Regions from separate parts of the Homo sapiens genome. Here all the other regions are linked to region 1. Evidence: promoter capture Hi-C in 16 types of primary human blood cells and fetal thymus (Javierre and others, 2016). All regions are on one chromosome and are shown on one strand. Each heading gives the region's core, a stretch centred on a gene start or on the middle of the fragment in contact. The rest is flanking DNA. Distances are from core to core; before and after follow the strand shown. Region 1 holds the start of WDR64 (WD repeat domain 64). Region 2 overlaps SDCCAG8 (SHH signaling and ciliogenesis regulator SDCCAG8). Region 3 overlaps CEP170 (centrosomal protein 170).

What was found. The method cuts DNA at HindIII sites, captures the fragments that hold promoters and counts their contacts. A CHiCAGO score of 5 or more calls a contact.
Region 2: a fragment that was not itself captured here is called in contact with the fragment with the promoter of WDR64 in region 1 in 6 of 17 cell types (non-activated CD4 T cells, activated CD4 T cells, total CD4 T cells and 3 more); the score reaches 10.0 in non-activated CD4 T cells.
Region 3: a fragment that was not itself captured here is called in contact with the fragment with the promoter of WDR64 in region 1 in 1 of 17 cell types (total CD4 T cells); the score reaches 6.0 in total CD4 T cells.

The regions. Positions count from the first base shown.
Region 1 is chr1:241,651,007-241,653,590 of GRCh38, reverse strand. It overlaps WDR64 (WD repeat domain 64), which reads right to left and starts at 1,310. Exons shown (of 28, transcript NM_001367482.1): 1 at 962-1,310. The coding sequence starts at 1,106. The HindIII fragment of the contact is 1,763 bases long and covers 786-2,548 here.
Region 2 is chr1:243,272,696-243,275,279 of GRCh38, reverse strand. It overlaps SDCCAG8 (SHH signaling and ciliogenesis regulator SDCCAG8), which reads right to left. Exons shown (of 18, transcript NM_006642.5): 4 at 624-737. Among named protein-coding and RNA genes, the nearest start is that of SDCCAG8, 18 kb to the right of the region's middle. The HindIII fragment of the contact is 1,396 bases long and covers 585-1,980 here.
Region 3 is chr1:243,221,997-243,224,580 of GRCh38, reverse strand. All of the region lies in intron 2 of CEP170 (centrosomal protein 170), which reads left to right. Among named protein-coding and RNA genes, the nearest start is that of CEP170, 32 kb to the left of the region's middle. The HindIII fragment of the contact is 3,709 bases long and covers 1-2,584 here.

The DNA.
Region 1 (2,584 bases), core at 61-2,560:
GCCTGGGCAATAGGAATGAAACTCCGTCTCAGAAAAAAAAAAAAAAAGAAAAGAAAAGAAAAGAATTTGGGTAACTTGGGCAAATGATTTATCTTCAGCTCCCATTTTTTCCACAAATAAAATGAACATAATGACATTGATTAACATGACTATAAATTATTAAATACTATTCAATTAATACCAGCTTGGGTTTGAACACCCAAAGTCAAGATTTTCACTTACAAATTACTATGCAGCCTGGCACACTCAGAGGCTGGCTATACTATCCCTTTAGCAATTATATGGGCTCTGCTCCTTTCATTGCAACAGCAGGGTTTGTTCTGTTAGTCTTTCACTCTGCCATGTAGCTTTATTTTTCACAGCTGTCCTCAATACGCCAAAGCTGTACACTACACCACTCCCCTTGAATCTTGTCTATGCACTGGCATCTCTGCTGCAAATCCTCCTGTAAGACCACTGTCCACCATATTCTCCTTAGCTTGCATCCTCAAGATCATTCCTGCCTAGAGATATGGAGAGTGGCCAAGACAATGGAATCATGGTGAGGCAGGAAGCTGCACTTCTTATGAAAGTCTTTATGGTCTCATGATATCTTTAGGCTAAGAAAAAGCAGTGCTATACATTACTGAGCATCCCAGGTCAACCAGTGAGCCATCAAATGGCAGCGTCTACAGAAGAACACTGGACGTCATTTAATCCAATCCCATAGTTTTACAATTGAAGCAACTTCGGTTCAGAGAAGTAAAAAAAAAAAACAAAAACAAAAACAAAACAAAACAAAAGCTTCCTCATGTCCGCTTTGTTATTTAGGGACAGAGAAAGAACAAGAACTGAGGTCTTCATCCCCTTTCAGCACCCATTCTTTCACATTAAGCTCTGATGCTTCTCTCTGATGGCTTAAAACATTTTCCAGTTCTAACCAACAGACCCAATTGGACTATCGTGTAATCACTGATCTTACCTTCTTTATGGATAAATAAGCCTGCTCTTTCATCTCTTTTCTGGGCTGCTGTTTGTTCAACCAATTTTTCAAACCTGTTCAAAGCCTTTTTGAAATTGCTCATCTGAAGTGCCATGTTGAGACGCTTTTCCTTCCTGATATCCATAGGGACATAGGGGATCTTTTACTTCTGTACAGAAAGAATACTGCAAGTTTACCAATTTGGAAAACTTTCCAGTTGTTACAGTGCCTCCCTGCTGTCTCAGTTTTTGCCCTAGGTCTAATTCCTTTGATCTTAAAATCCCATAGTGCGGGTAGGAGTAAGAGTTGCCACTAGGATGTTAGCAGGGAGGAAAGCTGATTTAGGTCTGATGCATTTCATACAGACAAACATTTCAGTAAAAATCCTGACCTCACAATGTCATCAGTGTCCTTCATAGGGTCCTCATTGCATCATAATATCTCTGTAACATCCTACTTCCTTCATAAGGAGGAGATTGAGATATTTTTTTCCCCACAGACTGTGTGTGTGTGTGCGCGTGCACATGTGTGTGTTGTGTATACTGCTTGAGAGGGAAAAGGAATGAGTAAATAACAAGTAAGAAAACTGGGTAATACTTTCTCCCTCGTGTATCTCTTCTCACCTCAAACCTTTTGCCTTCCTCACAATACCGCGGAAAGTAAAGTTTGGCCAGGCACGGCGGCTCATTCTTGTAATCCCAGCACTTTGGGAGGCCGAGGTGGGTGGACCACCTGAGGTCAGGAGTTCAAGACCAGCCTGGCCAACATGGTGAAACCCCCGTCTCTACTAAAAATACAAAAATTAGCTGGATGTGGTGGCGGGCACCTGTGATCTCAGCTACTCAGGAGGCTGAGGCAAGAGAATCACTTGAACCTGGGAGTCAGAGGTTACAGTGAGTTGAGATCACACCACTGCACTCCAACCTGGGTGACAGAGTGAGACTTCCTCTCAAAAAAAAAAAAAAGTAATATTCACACTTATTCTTGCCACTGTACTGGATATGGAAATTCGAACTTCTAAAGATGAAATGTATTTCAGCACCTGTCATTTCTACCACAAACATTTTTAGAGGTCATAGGGAATACAAATGCTCTTCTTCCTTTGTGCATTGTCCTTCGATTGAAATAATAAAGTGAGCCAAGGATAAGGAAGGAGTGGCTTCTGATTATGAGGACAGCTTTTCAAGGTAAGAGGTCAGATGAATTAGAAGAGGCCTTTCTGCACATCTCCTTCCCAGTCATTGCAATCTCCAATCCGACTTAGTCCAAATGCTATTGACTCCGGTTTTCCAATTTTCAACTTTTTATGGGAAGGAGAAGTTGTTTAATGTTTCTCAACAATTAGTTAACTTCCTATGGCTTAGGTGAGTTAGATAAATTTCCTACCCCTTGGTAGTCCATCTTTTAAAACATTCTTCAAGAACTTGCATTCAGAGATGAAGCAGATGGCATTTCAGAGCACCTCCAATTCCAGTACTGTCTTCTTGGTGTCCACCTCTAACTATCTGTTAGGAGAGCGCAGTAAGATTTTATTTAAAGAAAAATCCCCCAACCCCATTTGTTTCTCCTCCTTTTTCCTTTAAAGCTTTCAAACCACTGTACAGTGATGTCTGGAGAACCACT
Region 2 (2,584 bases), core at 33-2,532, 1.6 Mb before region 1:
AAACAGAAAAAAAAAAGTAAAACACGACATACTTCGGGAAGATGAAAAGGCTCTATTAGCATTAATGACATTAGCAAACTGCACGCAGTTGAGCATATAACCTTCTAGTGTCATAAGCTATATATGATGTGTTTGGTTTCTTGATCATTACTGTCAGTACCCTATGAACCATTCTCATTCAAAGTCAAAGTAAGAGCCTTAATACTGACAGCGGAGAAGAATTGGTCTACCAGTTTAGAATCCCTGATTGCTGTACCACTGCTCCAGTAGGTTGACAAGTATGGGAGAATGATTGGTATTTGTATTCCAAAGCATTTGCCATTTGCTGGGCTACAGCAAGCGGGGTGAGAAGGAAAACTTCTGAAATATGAAAGCATATTATGAAATCATTAGACATAGTAATGAACTACTGGGAAATCAAGCAATCAGAAATGGTATGGTCAAGAGCATCATTCCCAAGTCTGACAAGCTCTTGTGACACATCAGTCTCTCAATCACGTAAGAATAGCAATTGTCAATGTATTGCTACAAACATGAAGATTTATAGCAGCAAATTTTAATACAATCTATAGTTAATATAAGCTTTCATTTATTTAGTTTTAAATTCTTAATGAGAAACTTACCTTGCAGAACTTAACTTCTGCCTCTAAATGATGAATATATTGAGACTGGTCATTAATAGTATGAACAAGGTCGTGCATAGTAGGCATATTGGTTTCCTCATGTTCTAATGACCTCTATGACAAAAAATAAATAAATAAATACATAAATACATAAATTTTAAAAAGCCAAATTAAGCATGTTTGGATTTAGCAAAGAATCAGTTGTTACCTTCTCCATACTCAATTTTGCACTGATGTGATATAAACATAGAATCGATCACAATGTAGCTTATAGTCTTGATATAGTTTGGATGCTTGTCCCCCACAAACCTCAAGTTGAAATGTGGCCCCCAGCATTGGAGGTGGGGCCTGGTGGGAGGTGTTTCGGTCATGATGAATGAATCTTGGTGCTATCCTCATGATAATGAGTTCTTGCTCTGAGTTTTGGTGAGATTTGGTTGTTTAAAAGAATGTGACACCTCTCCCACTTCTTGCTCTGGCTCTCACCACATGAAATGCCTGCTCCCCTTTCACCTTCCACCATGACTGAAAGTTTCCTGAGGCCCTCACCAGAGTGAGATGCCAGTATCACACTTCCTATACAGCCTGCAGAACCATGAGCTGATTAAACCTCTTTTTTAAATAAATTACCCAGCCTCAGGTATTTATTTTTAGCAACACGAGAATGGACTAATACAAATACTTGCTTCTCTATCCTATAAATTCCACAAATACACAAGATTCATGGATGTGAATATCATTTTTTTTAAAGATGGATGGTGAAAGTGGTTATAAAAAGCACATATAGTGAATGGAAAAATGCTGGGGTAGCAGTAGTATAACTGGCTTGGAATAAACTATTTTAACAAATTGGAAAAACAACATTCCATTCAGTAATGCTGAGATACAAGGGACAACTCTCTCCAAGAAACTGCCATGGAAGAGGATTTGCTAGCTAAAACTGCAGCAGCTCCGTGAAGGAGAGATTCTTTAGGAAGCGTTTGATGCCAAGCCAGTGTCAATGCGATGAAATTCCATCTCAAAAAAGATACATTAGCAAAATGTAGTTTTTGATTTTTGGCTCTAGTATTGAAGGCAATTCAAGTGTATGGTGTTCTGGAGCATAGAACCTCCAAGAGTAGAACCCTAAAGTAGAGACACACTGCATTGAGGGGTCCAACGAAGAGATTTCAAAAAAACGCTAATGCTATTTTAGCTCTGTAGCATTCCTGGAACTGACTGTTAATGTATAGCTTACCTTATCCTAAAATAGTTTGTAAAATCATATACCCATCACATAATTTTTTTTTTAAAGGATGAGGAAATCAGGAAAAGGTAAAACAAGGGTCAACCAGTTAAACAAAGCCAGAGGAAAGCTTGAAATGAGGCACAGTGTCTGTTTCTCAGCCACTCTCTTTCTCAGCACAGCAGACATTTTAAATGATAATCAAGTACCAGCTATCATGGCAGAATAAAATAAAATAGAGCTTTGGTTTTTTGGTATATTTAAGAAATTTAAAAACCAAAGTAACTCTAATTAAATGAATTATCTGTCCTGAGTAGAAATCAAACAATTATAATCATCCTCCATTAATAGCAATAGGTTCAGAAGATAGGCAAATATAAATTACTACTATGAGTATACAGGAGGAAGTCAATGTGAAAAATAAAAAGCTCAAGCCAATATTGTATGAAAAATGTTCACATGAAATCATTTGTGTCTACTTTGAAGGGCTTTAGTTTAGATATCTACATTTTAAGACAATAAGTAATAACTTTTTTTCCATCTCAACAGTGCCTCAGTTTTACTCTCAATATATGCATGTATTTCTAATATGTTATACTGGCTATGAAAGTGCATTCTAAAGGTATAATCTTAAAAAGCTAATTATTACTATTATGGTTTATAATTATTACATGTAGGCTGTATACATATAGAGTCTAAGTTCCATTCTTTTACATAGCTCCATATAAATAGACTT
Region 3 (2,584 bases), core at 27-2,526, 1.6 Mb before region 1:
CAGGGAAAACACTATAAAACAAGTTCATCCAACCTGAGGCCCAGGACGGCTTTGAATGCGGCCCAGCACAAATTCATAAACTTGCTTAAAATATCATGAGGTGTTTTTTTTGCAATTTTTTTTTTTTTTAGTTCATCAGCTGTTGTTAGTGTATTTTATGTGTGACCCAAGACAATTCTTCTTCCAGTGTGGCCCGGGGAAGCCGAAAGATTGGACACCCTTGCTATAAAAGGACAGGGACTGGAGTCTTTCATTCTTACCAGAAGTTTAAGTAACAGGAAAAAAAGGGCCTGGTCAAAATTGCCTATCTTTGCAGTTTTAAGCTCAGATCAGCTAAGGTTTTCCCATTAGTATCAGAAACGTGATTAAGTTAGCAGTCTTTGTTAGGATTTAAATTATGTATTTCTGAGAGATTTTTATTAAATTTTCATTGAAATATCCAAATGGGTTGTGAATATCAAGTTGTCATGCACCTTCTGGTTCAGTTTAATCTAGAGGAAATGTGAATTTGATTATATAGAAATGAAAACAGTTTAATGCTTAAGTGGTTAGATATCCATTACATATTCTTCCTATTCCCTCAGTTTTCCTTGACTCGGTCACTAGATGTATTATGTTCTGTAATCTTGGTCTTCTGCTTAATTCCTGTCATGGGTGCTGAAACACATTGATACTTTATATACATTTCATAATAACTAAAAACATAGGAATTTTTTTTTCATTGGCTGCTTTTTTAAAAAAATAGTTACACAAATGGGATTGTCTTATTCTGTGAGTACTAAACTGATCTTCTTTGCCTTGAGTTCCTGACTACTCTTCTTGAATTGTTACTGTCTTTATTAAACAAACAAACGATGTATTCTTGTGATCCCACATAACAGGCCCACTCCTCACTCCCTAATCCCCAGAGTTGTAATGGCATCTCACTCGACTCAGTGGACTCTGTTGTTCTCTTAGGTCTTAAGTGTGCTCTGTCTTTTGCTGTAGGTGTTTATGTACCGTCAGTGTTCACCATAAGCAGTTGGAGGGCGGGGTACATTGTAGATTAAGGATATTCCAGATTTCAAACAAGTTGTTCACTTAGTGAAGCAGCCTGTCCTAAATTACTTCCTCCCCAAATCACTTTTTCTCAATATCCCTCATCTGTGTTTATCACACTCCTTCGAAAGCCACCATTCTCTGGCTCCATGAGTAGCCATTTGACTCCTTTAGTCCTATATCTAATGGTAACATTTCACTTTGCTTTGGAATTTGCCTTTTCTCAACTCTAATTTAGATTTTTTTCTTTGAATTTCAGTCCATTGTCCAAAGGATTTCTGCCCTTTTCCTATGTACTCTTTTCCTCAGAGAGAGATTATTTATGAGGATCCATTCAGTATTTATTGAGAGCCTACATGTACTTGAAATCTCACTTCTCTTAACAACATTTGGAGGTTTTATCCTTAGACTAGATCAACTTGATACATCAACAATATGGTGAAATTATTTTGCTGAGTGGTGCGTTGTTGCTTCTTGCCAACTTAAGAACTGAATTTAGTATTTCATTAGTTTAACCAGATGAATAAAAATTCAAAGTAATGAAAACAAAAATGAATTTTAAGCAATTTTTAGATTTAATGCAGGAGTTTTTTTAAATCTCAAGTTGGTCCACCCTCAAGTCTCTAGCAATTAATCACTTCACCTTTAAGTTGTCCTACTGGTTGCTGTTTCTAGCGGAGGCTTCTGCTCCTGGCAAGCTGTGATTCTCTCTGTATTTGCTTGTCTCTCTACTTTTCAGGGTGGTAATTTGCCTTGTGACCTCAGGTCTCTGAAAAACTAAGATGAGTTTTTGGTTTTCAGTTTGTTCAACATTTTTCTTATTATGAAGATGGGAGCGATGACTTCAGATTCTTTCCATGTTGGACCAAAAATTGGAAGTCATGTCTGTTCCCCATTTTTGATACTCTCTTTGCTTTTAGTATACCAGGGTTCACACAGTAACCCCGTAATACATGGTGATCAAGTTCAGATTCACTGGTTCACAGACTGTTTCTTCTGTGACTATAATGATATTTCCTTTCAATACCAATTTCCACAGGCTTATCGTTCTGCTTTTGGGTGCTTCCATCTGCAGACAACTTACTAAGCTCTGGAGAGAGACAGAGAGAGAGAAAACTTTAAAAGAAACTTAAAAGCAATTTTCAAAAACCACAGTTTGCCATTAAAATACCTTTCTTTTGACTTTCAGTCCCTTTCCCTCTTAGAGCTGTCCCGTGAATTCCAGTTTTAGAGCCCATATTTTAAATGAAGATAATTTTGTTCTGAAACATGTCATATTGTGTCCCTTTTCCTCTAAATCTTTGGACTCTTTGAATAGTTTATGCTCATTTTTTGTTTTGAAAGAAGAAAATCCTACAAGGTAAATGTTTTTTACAATAAGATATGTAAAACATGGTAAAATTATAATTCACATGATTTCTCTATAACAGTTTTAAATTTAAAAAAATTAAGTTAATACATTCAGCGAAGTCAGCTGATGTAAATTCTTAATAGAACATGTGAATTTAGTAGAAAAGAATATCTTTAAAATTTTATGTTTTCCTCT